4 separate regions of the Homo sapiens genome follow, and all the other regions are linked to region 4. The links are contacts of gene promoters, found by promoter capture Hi-C in blood cells and fetal thymus (Javierre and others, 2016). All regions are on one chromosome and are shown on one strand. The core of a region is centred on a gene start or on the middle of the fragment in contact, and the rest is flanking DNA. Distances in the headings are between cores, read along the strand shown.

Region 1 (3,207 bases), core at 165-2,664, 1.1 Mb after region 4:
AACCCTTAGAATTAAGGGTCCCCTTGTAAAAGGGAGGGGGGAATATGTCCGAGGCATTCCATCCAGAGTGACTCCATCTTGAATAGGGGCTGTGTTTTAGTCGAGTCTCACACTGCTATAAAGACATACCTGAAACTGGGTCATTTATAAAGAAAAGAGATTTAATTGACTCACAGTTCTGCATGGCTGGGGAGGCCTCAGGAAAATTACAATCATGGTGGAAGGTGAAGGGGAAGAAAGGCACGTCTTCACATGGCCAGAGCAGGAGGAAGAGAGAGTGAAGGGGAAAGTTCTACACACTTTCAAACAACCATATCTCATGAGCGCTCACTCACTATCATAAAAACAGCAAGGGGAAAATCCACCCCCAAAATCCAGTCACCTCCCACCAGGTACCTCCCCCAACATTGAAAATTACAATTTGACATGAAATTTGGGTGGGGATACAGAGCCAAACCATATTAGTCTGGATAAAATAAGCCTGAGACCTACTGGGCTGCATTCCCAGGAGGTTAGGCATTCTTAGTCACAGAATGAAATAGGAGGTCAGTACAAGATATAAGTCACAAAGACTTTGCTGACAAAACAGGATGTAGTAAAGAAGCCTGCCAAAACCCGCCAAAACTAAGATGTCAATGAAAGTGACCTAGTCATCCTCACTACTCATTATATGCTAATTATAATGCATTAGCATGCTAAAAGACACTCCCACCCACACTATGACAGTTTACAAATTCCATGGAAATGTCAGGAAGTTAACCTTTATGGTCTAAAAAGAAGAGGAACCCTCAGTTCTAGGAATTACCCACACTTTTCCTGGAAAACTCATGAATAATCCACCACTATGATCAAAAAATAAGTATACCCAGTCAAGCCGCCCATGCTGCTGCTCTGGCTATGGAGTACCCATTCTTTTATTTCTTTACTTTCTTAATAAACTTGCTTTCATTTTAAAAATAAAAAGAAAGAAAGAAGGAGGCTGGGCACGATAGCTCATACCTGTAATCCCAGCACTTTGAGAGGCCAAGGCAGGCGAATCACCTCCAGGTCAGGTGTTTGAGACCAGCCTGGCCAACATGGTGAAACCTCGTCTCTACTAAAAATACAGAAATTAGCCAGGTATGGTGACACATGCCTGTAATTCCAGCTACACAAGAGGCTGAGGCAGGAGAATCACTTGAACACAGGAGGTTCAGGAGGTTGAGGTTGCAGTGAGCCAACATCATGCCACTACACTCCATTCTGGGCAAGAGAATGAGACCCTGTCTAAAAAAAAAAAAAAGGGAGAGAGAAAAGAGAATACTAAAGATAGAGTATAGCTACATAAAGAAGGTAGGGCACTCCAACATTTAAAGAAGAACAACCAGCAAAGAAAACTGAAAAGAGTGGCCAAGAAGGTGGCAATAACACTAGGAGAGTGAGAGACCGCAGGCACCAAATGAGAAAAGTGTTTCAGAGAACAGAGGAGGAGATAGTGATTAACTGAATAAAATGCTGCTAAGAAGTTAAATAACCTAGACAGAAAGAGACCATTAGCAGTACCACCTTGTATTCATCAGGGTTTTCTAGAGAAACAGAGCCAATATGACATATATAGATATACAGAAATAGATTTATAATGAGGGATTGGCTCAAATGATTATGGAGGCTGAGAAGTCCCACAATCTGCTATCAACACACTGGAGGCCCAGGAAAGCCAGTTCTACTCAAAGCCAAAAGGCTGAAGAACCAATGGAGCCAATAATATAAATCCCAGTATGAGTCTGAAGGCCCATAAACCAGAAGCATCTATGTCTGAGAATTGGAAAAAATGAATGGTTCAGCTCAAACAGAAAGGGTAAATTTGTCCTTCCTCCACATTTTGTTCTAGGCAGGCCCTTAATGGATTGGATGATGACCAACCATATTTGTGAGGGTAGATCTGCTTTACTTATTAGACTAATTTAAATGCTAATCTCTTCTGGAAACATCTTTGCAGACATGCCCAGAAATAATTTTCTGCCAGCTATCTGGGTATTCCTTAGCCCAGTCAAGTTGACATATAAAATTAACCAACACACACTCTTAGAACTAAGCAAGGAGCTTTTGGCAAGTTCCACTCTGATACTCCTTCAGCTGTCTATGGGGCAAGGATTCCACAAGGCCAAAGGGAGGTATCAATCAGAACCTACATCCTTCAAGATTATATATGCATACCCAGAACTCCCTGTCTCAACAACCTCAAGCCACTTTCAAGCCGGCTTGAGCCTTGTTATTGTCTGAATGTTTGTGTCCCCCAAAATTCATATGTTAAAACCTAATTCCTAATGCAGTAGTATTAAGAAATGAGGTCTTTGGAAGGTGATTAAGCCACATGGATGGAGCCCTCATGAATGGGATGAATTCCCTTAGAAAAAAGACCCATGGTTTCTTGTTCATCCCTTCTGTCATATGAGTACATAGCAAGAAGGAACAATCTTAGAAGCAGAGAGGGCTATTTCTTACCAGACATCAATCTGCTAGTGTCTTGATTTTGGACTTCACAGCCTCCAGAACTGTGAGCAATAAATTTCTGTTATTTATAAATTAAGTAGATTAAGAACATTTGTTATAGCAGCCTGAAAGGACCAAAATGGGCCTCATCCTCAGGTCTGTTTTGACAGGTGACTGAGCTGGTGTACACATCTGTTGGCTTAAGGGGTAACCAAAGGACAATTGATTTCATGGGGTGAGGTCACAGTTGTGATGCCTGAGCTGGGGAGTCCATTCTTGTGCATGCAAGGCTGTTTCAAGATTGTCTCTTTTCCCCAGGGCTTCCATAACAAATTACCACAAACTTGGTGGCTTACAACAACAAAAATTTATTTTCTCAAATTTCTGGAGACCAAAAGTTCAAAATTAGGGTATTGGCAGGGTTGATTCCTTCTGAAGGCTCTGAGGGAAGATCTATTTGCTATGTTTTAAATATCTGTGCCATGCAAAACTCACATTGAAACTTACTCTCCACCAGGCATGGTAGCTTATGCCTGTAATCCCAGCACTTTGGGAGCCTGTGGCAAGAGGGCCACTTGAGATAAGCAGTTCAAGACCAGACTGGCAATATAGTGAGACCCCATCTCTACAAAAAAAATTAAATGGCCAAGTGTGGTGGCCTACACCTGTAGTTCCAGCTACTCAGGAGGTTGAGGTGGGATGATTGCTTAAGCTTTGGAGATAAAGATTTCAGTG
Region 2 (3,033 bases), core at 524-3,023, 1.1 Mb after region 4:
TTGACTTGCTCTGGGTAAATGATTCAAGAAGGAGCAAGGTGGAAGTTTCGATGTCTTTATGAATTATCCTCAGAAGGCATGCTTTGTCATTTTTACAATATCTTGTTAATTAAACTGGCCTTCCTATTCAGTGTTGGAGGGAACTGCCCAAGGACATGAATATCAAGACTCAAGAATCGTGGGGGGTCATTTCAGAAACTGGCTATGACAGAGGTTTAACATCCGAGTAATAGGAATCCTTGCAAAAGAGACAAGAGGAAGTAAATAGTCAGAGAAATAATACAAGAAAACAAAATACAAGGAAATTTTCCAAAACTGAAAACAAAGACTTTACAGATTGAAATGACCCACCAACCACCCAAAATAATAGAGGGAAAATTTTAGAACACTGAAAACAAAAACAAGCTTTCAGGGGAAGGAAAAAATATCACCTACAAAGGATCAGGAAACACAACAGCTTCATATTGATCAATGGCAACACCGAAAACTAAAAGGAATTGTGATCAAAATTATCAAGGAAAATTATTTCAACCTGTAATCCTATACCTAGTCAAACTGTCAAAATAAATGTAAAGTAAAATAAAGGCATTCAAATTCTTTAAAAAATTGTCTCCATTGCACTCTTTCTCAGAAAACTACCGCAAGAGGTATCTCTACTAAAATGAGGGATTAAAATAGGAAAGAGCATTGTGGAGATACACAAAATAATAGCAAAACAAGCAAAAGGATTCCCAAGGACAATGGCAAAAGAAGATCTCAGATGAAACTCTATCAGACATAGAGGAGATGTGAATTGGGGGAGAGACGGGGAGAAGAGCATTAAAGCTTCATTTTCTACTGTGAGAAACCAATAGATAGTGTCTAAAAAGTTAAAGAAGTAGTAATATAAATATGTTTCTTAGATACATGGAGGTAAATAGTAAAATAAGAATCATCTTAAGGAGGTGAAAAGTATAGTAGCTTTTGAAGAAAGGGAATAATGGGGAGGAAATGAGCTTGCTGTTACTTATAAGAATTGTGAAATTATTTGATTCTTTAAATTACGAATATACAGTCATGCACTACATAATAACATTTCAGTCAACAACAGATGACATATACAGCAGGGGCCTCATAAGATGATAGTGGAGCATATATAAAAACCTGATCTATTGCACTTGATTTTGGCATCACATATCAAGTAGGGGAAATGATTGATATTTAGTAATGATGCTGGAAATTTGGTTTTCCAGATAAAAATATATGTATAAATAAAAATATATATACCACCTAGGCTAATGTAAGTACATTCTATCATGTTCAACAATGACAAAATCTCCACGTGACACATTTCTCAGAATGTAGCCTCATTGTTAAGCAATTCAAAACAGTATAAAACTGATAATGTTCTTAATAACTGGTAATTTTAAGAGACAGAGATATTAAGAAGAGATGGCCCCTTTTCTATCTCTAGTTATCTTGGATTTTAAGCATACATGTAAAGATATAACATATACTATGCCAAAGATTCTAGACTTCTTTTTTAAAAATTATAATGGGATGAAGACTTGATGGACTGGTAGAGAAAGGAAAGGGGGAAAAAAAAGTTCAAAATCCTAACTTTAAAAGGTCTGTTATTCACAAGATAAACATGTCAAGCTATTTATCCAGAAGGAAAGAAAAGCAATTTATGTTTGTAATTATAGCTATAAACTTAGCTATTCCCTTAGCCAATGAAAATCACAGTGTTCAGATATTAATTAAAATTCTTTTAAATTTCTTCATGAATGATTTTGCATATCTAAAAGTATAATTTAAATATTTCTCACTGCACCATTCTGTTCTTCATTGACTTGAAATTATTTAAGTACAACTCAATTTTCCACTGCTACATTTTTCCACTGCATGGAAGGTAAGGCCAGAAGACAATTAATCAAAGCTGGTAAATTAATGCCTTGCCATCAGATTCACTTTAACTATACTAAATGTTTCACATATTATAATATTCCATTATTACTTTATGTACTCACTAGTTTCCTGGTTCTCTAATTAGTGAAATATCAGCCAGGTTTTTATTTTGCCATCAAAATGTTTGCCTATTTAGTTCATAATCTTGTTACTTTGCACACAAAGCTAACAAATAGGTATAGTTCATATTTTTCTCTCAAATTTCTGGCGAAAAAAGTGTGCTTTTATTAGAATTGTTAGCAAGGCGAATTTTCTTTTAGTTGATTTTGTGTCTTTTGACAGTTTAATGTGAAATCAGTCTTCTCAGAATGGAGGACAGAATAAATCTGAAGAGATTCATTGAAAATATTTGGTTAATTTTTAATTAACTACTATATCTATCACATCATACATACCAAATGTATCAGTCAAGTTGGATTCCACTTGTAATACTGGTGTAAGAAATAATGACAGTTAATCATCTAACATATAATAATCTGGAGACAGTTGGTTCTAGATTTAGTACAATGGTTCAGCAATGTCATTAAGGGACTTTCACTGTGGTATCTTCGATGTGTTGGTTTTTAGGCTTTTAGACTTTAACACCTGTAGACTGTCAACTCAGAGTTCCAAAATTGCTGCTACAGATTGAAACATCACATTCTTAAACCAACATCATGAGCAGGAGATAAAGGATAAATGGATGAATCATAAAAGAAAATTTTTTCTCAACAACCCCAAGCTGACTTTCCTTCATGCCAAGTCACATGACAACACAGCTTCAAGGAAAGCTTGGCATATGTCAGTGGAATTTCCACAATTGTTTAGATGAATTGTGATTTATCTTCTAGGGCTATGCATTAGTTTCCTATTGCTAGTGTAACAAATTACCATGAATGTAGTGAACTAAAACAACACAAAGTTATTGGCTGACAATTTTGGAAGTCAAAGTCCAAAATGAGTTTCACAGGACTGAAATCAAGGTGTTGCAAGGGCTGAGTTTCTTCCGAAGGCTCTAGTGGAGAATTTCCTTGTGTGTTCCATCTTTTAGAGGCTGCCTGCATTTCTAGGCTCATGATCCCTTTTTCACTTTGCTCTAACCTCTGC
Region 3 (3,021 bases), core at 273-2,772, 1.1 Mb after region 4:
TTCTTTGGAGGTATGATCTTTCCTTGCTTTTTCATGGTTTTTGTGTGTCATTACATTGATATCTATGCATATTGTGTGACAGTTGTTTCTTTCCTTTTTGTTTTTTGTTTTTGTTTTTGTTTTACTTTTGAGACAGTATCTCACTCTGTGCCCCAGGCTGGAGTGCAGTGGCACAATATCAGCTCAGCGCTACCTCCACCTCCCAGTCTCAAGCAAATCTCCCACCTGAGCCTCACAAGTAGCTGGGACTATAGGCATGGGCCATCACACCCAGCTAATTTTTATATTTTTTCATAGAGATGGGGCTTTGCCATGTCATTCAGGCTGGTCTCGAGCTTCTGAACTCAAGTGATCCACCTGTCTCAACCTCCCAAACTGCTGAAATTAGAGGCATGAGCCATCATGCCCAGTCCTGTTTCTTCCACTTTTATGTAATAGCCTTTGTAGGGAAAGACTTTTTCCTATAGATGTAATTATAGTGTTGGGTGGATAGAGTGCTTTGGCTTTGATTCTGGATGGATGCAGTTTAGTCTCTGTATTATTTCATTGGCTATAATCAGCCTCAGTGGTGTCCATGAGATCTCCAGTGGCTTAGGCTGCAGCTGTTAGTGGAGACTGTAATAAGGTTTTGCTAGGGAGAGGGATTCCAGACAGGCCAGCCCTTGGGCAGCAGTGATGGCAACAATGGTCTGGTCGTGCCATTCCTTGGACCTCCTGTGCAGTGTACATGGGAACTAGTGGTAGTTAATCCAGGCAGGCCAGTCCCTGGGCCTCAAGGCAGTTTGCTTGTGTATTGACCATTGCAGTGATGGGCAGAATGAGCAGGTGGATCCTAAAGCCCCTGGATGATATTCATAGCATCAATAGTAGTAGTAGGGGCATCAGGCAAACCCTTGGATCCTTGAGTGGCACATGTGAGCACCAGCAGTGGCAGCTGTGGACTGGATAGGCCAATCTCCAGGACCCCAGGAATCATATGCAGGTGGGTACCAGCAGCAGTGACAGTGGCAAGCTGGGTGGGTCAGTCCCCAGGCCCTCAGGAAATGCATGCGGCCAGTGGTAGAAGATGTTACATGACCATCCTCAGGCCCCCAGAAGGCATGTGCAGGCCCTGGCACCAACAGGTGGAGTGGATTCTCCCCAGGTCCCTGGATGGCACACTTGAATATCAGTGGCAGTGATGGTGGTGGGGTAGGCCTGTCCTCAGGCCTCTGGATGACACATGTATATACTGGCAGTGGCAGTATATGGGGTGGACATGCCCTTAGGACCCCCAATGGTGCACGTGGATACCAGCTGCAGCAGGCAGGGTAGGCGAATCCCCATCCCTGGAAAATATTCTCAGGAACTAGCAATAGTGACATTGAGGGGACAAGCCTTTCCTCAGGCCACCAGGTGGTGTGCGCAAGAGCTAGTACACCTCACACGGGCCTGTGGTAGGCCCTGGGACAGTTCCTGGGAGGGCTGTTCCCCAGGAACCCTGAAGGACCATGCAGGTGCACAGTGGCCCTTCTGCTGGAGGGAGTCTAGTTTCTATCAGAGTCCACAGCCCAGGCAGGCAGCACTCAGACTCTTAGGAGCACACACCTTTGCTCCCTTAGTCCCAGGGTTGGCATCTCTGGTGCACTGCGCCACCCATTTCCTGGGATGTAGAATACTGCATAGGCTAGAGTGCTGGGAATCCAGCCGCATCACTGAGTCCAGCCAATGTCATGACACTTCAGCCCTCTGGGTGGACATGGGTTGGGGGTGGTCAGCATGGTTCCAGGGATGTGGCAATATCAGAACTATTGGGACTCGGGAGAATGCAGTCTGGTGAGGGCTGGGCTCCTAAAATGGCTCTGTGCTGTAGCTGCTTGTGTCTCAGGGGATGTGTGGGACCCAGGGCAAACTCCCTCTCTGGAACAATGCCATCACATGGACTCCAGGCAGTTCCCCATACTAGTTTCAGGGCCTGTAAGGGCCAAGGGTATCTCCCATGGCTAGGATTTCAGGAGTCTACCTACAGTGGGGATGTGGACTGTTGGGAATCTCTAGCTTACCTTTCCCCACAATGGGGAGTCCCTCCTGGCTTCAAGCCAATCTCAGCCAGGCCAGCTGCTTTGCTTTTTTCTCCTTCCATGCCTCAGAGGGTCCCTGTCCCTTCCCTCCTGAATTCCAGTATTCTTCAATGCTCTATTGGACATGTGATTATCTATTCATGCTTAATTTCTCTTTGTGGAGGAGGCAAGTGCCAGGCATCTCTAGTAAGCCATCTTGAAGCCCCCATCTCGTCTTCTACTTTTGACATAAATAAAGAAGTAACTTGTCAGATAAAATGACTGATTTTTAAGAAAGAACAATAATACAACTATTTCTTAAAGAACTACCTTGATTGAATAATGAATATTCCTGCTTGAGTCCAACACTGTTTATTCCATTATCAAAAATAAAGTTATACATAGGGAATGTCACTTTTACCACAGCATAGAAAGTTTATCACTACCATAATTTGTGACAAGAAATAGTGACTCAACTTCTCTTCAACTTAAAATCTGGGCCTGAACACAGGGTCAGATGCATAACAGATATCAAGTAATATATATGGAATGTTTTAGTTTCCAAGATGGCTGACTGGAAGCATTTCCAGCATGCCTCATCCACTTAGATGAACCAAAATAATGTGTAGACAATCATATTTTGAATATATTATTCAAGATAAAACATAGGAGTTAAACAGAAAAGTGAAAGGAAACTTTAAAATCTAGGAAAAAGAAGGAAAACAGACAGCCCACATGGCTAGGAAAATCTAGGAACCAGAAGTGAATGCCAATACAGGACAGGGTAAGTGCTTTCTGCAATCTACTTTTCCATGAATCCAGGCCACAGGAGAGTACCTTGACTCACCCAGTCCCTGAATCTAAGTTAGGAAGCAGAAGGGAGATTACCAGAGGGAACTGCACAGGAAGTGTCACATGCCTTTTTGAGACCTAACCAGCTACTGTAAGATGTCATTCCTGACCCTAGCTCTTCACAAATTGC
Region 4 (3,274 bases), core at 20-2,519:
TAAATTATTTTGGAAAAAACACTGCTCCCCCAACCCATTTGACGATCTATTATTTCCTCCTGGGCTGCTCCCTCCCCAAGAGATTTGGTGCAGGAGGCAAGGAAGGACAATAAGAAAGGTTAGGAAGAAACACCTTGGGATGCTGACACCATCTGCCTTATCCTTCTAACTCAAGGACAAGCAGCGTTGGGTTGAATACAAGGTCCTTTCTTCCAAAACTGGGCACAGGCAGAAATATACATATAGATGCAAAACCACTATGATCCTGTGATAGGAGCTGGAATCACTTCCCTTTAGACTCAATTTCCTTTCCTTTTCGTTAGGTAGGGGGTCAGCCTCTCACCTTGCAGTATTGGGTGGAGATGGCTTAAGACCAAACTTCTCATCTTAACTCTTACTTCCAAGATTTATTTTGTATTTTAAAAAAAATGAGCCTGCCTCATTACCTCCACACCTGGGCATTTTGTTTATCAGGACTGAGCACAGTATTATTTTCTGAGGGCTGGAGCAACAGTGCAGTCCTTTCTAATCAAAGGTTTTTTAATCAGCTGGCTTTGAAATCACACAGTTCTTCCGGGGTCCCTGGAGCACACCACCTCCCTGTGATTTCTACTCAAGTTTTCCCTGGCCCCCCCCAGCACCCGTTCCATACCTATTTAATCTTTAAGCTGCCTCTAATCCTTTTGCAAGGAAGCAGGATGAAATGCTCAAACCACAGTTATACACAATGTTGATTCTCAGGTTCACACATTTGAGGAATTGTTTGAACAAGAAATGCTCTCTGTACTATAATCCAGGGTGCAGGCACGGTGCCCGGGCGACCCTCAGTCTCCCTCCGACACCCCGCATCCCAACTCCCGCCGCCTTTGCGCCTCAAAGCTGGCAAACATCCCCAAGCCAGAGCTGGAGTACCTGGAGTGGGTGGGGGTAAGAAGGGAAGCCAAGGTCGTCCCGGAAGGTGTGCGCCCCTCACCTTGTGGACGGTGCGTGCAGCCGCGCCGCACTGGGCAAACCGGCACGTCCAGCTGGCTCCAGAAGTCTCACTCGGAACCCGCTCCTTTTTCTCCTGAGCTGGATCAGAGCACTGCTTCTCTCAACATTCGATTCTGGAGTACGTTGAGCCCAGGGCGTTCTCCCCGCCAGCGTCCTTGCCCGCGCCAGTGCCCGCCGGGGTGCGGCGAGACAGAACCTGGGAGCGCGGCGCGCCGGGCAGCCCGAGGCACCGCTGGTGGCAGGCGCTGCGCTTCGCCGAGTCTGGGCGCCTGGACTGGAAGAGGAGGCGAGAGGGAGAGAGCGGGGAAGAGGAGGAGGAGGAGCAGGAGCAGGAGCATGGGCAGGGGCAGTCTGCTAAATCATCTACGCAGGTCGCAGCCTCCCGGGACACCGTGAACGGAGAGGGGGGTGGTGGGTGTGGGATGAAAAGATGAGCCCGGGTGTGAGGCAGGTGGTATTGTGAACTGGAGGTCGCAGCTCCGAGGTACTCCAGGTCTTGCTTAGGTTATAAAAGAGAAATTCTGGAGCTGATGGCGCCTTAGGGCTCCCGGTTGCAGACACTAGAGGGCAGGGCTGTCCATGTTATAAACCGGGCCAGCGGGGTTGGAGGTGTGGGCAAGGGACTCACCTCCTGAGCCCCTTGCCGGCCACAGCCCTGGCGGAGAAGGGGAAAATAGATACAACAAGGGGGCAGACCCTACTCCCTTCTTCTGTAGCGAGCCTGGGTTGAGGAGGGAGAGGAACGGCGGGAGCAGTTGACGGGTTTGCACGCTTTCTCTACGCGGTTCCAATGGCAAACAGACCCTCTGGAGGTGCATTTCTTAGCCCTCCTCCAGGGGAGATTACAGTCAACATCCACAGGATGCCTCAAGGAGAGAGATTACAAGGAAGGGGTGAGGGAGAAGTGGACGAAAATTGGGGTGGGTCAAAGTGGAAGGGGGGAAGAGAGGTGGGGAAAGCAGTGAAGAAAAGGAGACGGAGAGTGGAGTGGTTGGGGCTGAAAGACCTGCTGAAGCAGCCTTGCCATTTTTTTTTTTTTTGAGGGAAGTCTACCTGGGCGCCATCTCAGGTTGTCAGAGGGCTTTGTGCTCTTCTGAGGGTGCCAGGGGCTGTTCTTTTTGTTGTTCTGCTGCCGCAAGGTCAGAAAAGTTAAGCTGGGAGGGACTTTGCAGAATCCTGGCATTGCTAAAAGAAGCTTCCTTACGGCTGGTTGGTTATTCTCTGTGGAGAACTTGGGTGACTCAACATTGAAGCCTAACATGGATTGAGCCCCTGCCATTGTAAAAAAGAAAATCAGATTGTTCAAACTAGCCATAAAATGAACTAGACAATCTTATGGAGACAGTATGATCTGTAGACAGCCTGATACACAAACCTTAGAGTTGAAAGGACCTTGGAAACCATGTAGGCAACTTGGGTAGCTGCCCCAAACACCTGCCTCACACTTTTCTTTCTGGTTTGTAGCCTTATGGCTGATTTGAAAAACACTTTAAGTTATTTATTTATTTTTTGAAGTTTGACAATTCTAAACCAAATGAAACCCTTCTTCAGTTCAAAAAGCGAGCCTGTGTGCCCTTCTCCTGCCTTCTAGAGCGCCTCTCAAGGCCAGCAGGGGTTGACTGATGGATTATCAGGGGAATTTCACTGAACAAGAGAAAGGAAGGTTGGTAAACTATAGTCTTAAATTGTGATTTGCTTCTGTTAATCCCATTAAACTGAGAATAGGCTTAAGTAGACTGAAGTCTAACAGGAGGATGAGGTGGAAATATGTTTTCCTACTAAAGATGACACATCTTGAAGTTTGTTTGATGATAAAGGTGTTATGTAAAAATAAGCAGAACAAGAATCATTCCTCATTTTAAAAAAGAATCTTATAGGACTGAAGATATTTTAGATATCCCAAGAGAGTAAGTAAGGACATTGTTCTACTCTTGCAAGTTTGGAGTTCCTCCAAAATATAAAGGAAATATGAGTTTGTTAAATTGCTTTATTTAAAATTGATTTACCTATTTTTTGGTTATTACAACATAAGGAACTATGGAAACAAATATTATACACTTGGAAACTTTCCTGAACATACCTCAGAATACCCGCTTTTTGGCAGATGTTCAGCTTTATGAAGTGTCTGATTATTTTCAAGCTATTAATTAACTTCTGGCATATATTCTACCAGTTTTAATAAAATCAATGCTCTCTTAATCAAGAGCTGCTAATTCAATTTGTATTACCCATTTGAGTTTCCAGTGGCCTCTATGAGTGCTTTAAGATTGCAGGTATATGT

What was found. The method cuts DNA at HindIII sites, captures the fragments that hold promoters and counts their contacts. A CHiCAGO score of 5 or more calls a contact.
Region 1: a fragment that was not itself captured here is called in contact with the fragment with the promoter of HTR1E in region 4 in 1 of 17 cell types (endothelial precursors); the score reaches 6.0 in endothelial precursors.
Region 2: a contact is called between a fragment that was not itself captured here and the fragment with the promoter of HTR1E in region 4, in 1 of 17 cell types (endothelial precursors). The highest score is 5.2, in endothelial precursors.
Region 3: a fragment that was not itself captured here is called in contact with the fragment with the promoter of HTR1E in region 4 in 1 of 17 cell types (endothelial precursors); the score reaches 7.8 in endothelial precursors.

Annotation. Positions count from the first base shown.
Region 1 is chr6:85,789,834-85,793,040 of GRCh38, reverse strand. No RefSeq gene overlaps it. Among named protein-coding and RNA genes, the nearest start is that of SNHG5, 110 kb to the right of the region's middle. The HindIII fragment of the contact is 3,544 bases long and covers 1-3,186 here.
Region 2 is chr6:85,879,940-85,882,972 of GRCh38, reverse strand. No RefSeq gene overlaps it. Among named protein-coding and RNA genes, the nearest start is that of SNHG5, 200 kb to the right of the region's middle. The HindIII fragment of the contact is 1,892 bases long and covers 828-2,719 here.
Region 3 is chr6:85,825,205-85,828,225 of GRCh38, reverse strand. No RefSeq gene overlaps it. Among named protein-coding and RNA genes, the nearest start is that of SNHG5, 150 kb to the right of the region's middle. The HindIII fragment of the contact is 3,718 bases long and covers 1-3,021 here.
Region 4 is chr6:86,935,523-86,938,796 of GRCh38, reverse strand. It overlaps HTR1E (5-hydroxytryptamine receptor 1E), which reads right to left and starts at 1,269. Exons shown (of 2, transcript NM_000865.3): 1 at 974-1,269. RefSeq lists enhancers at 375-929, 930-1,485. The HindIII fragment of the contact is 4,175 bases long and covers 1-2,190 here.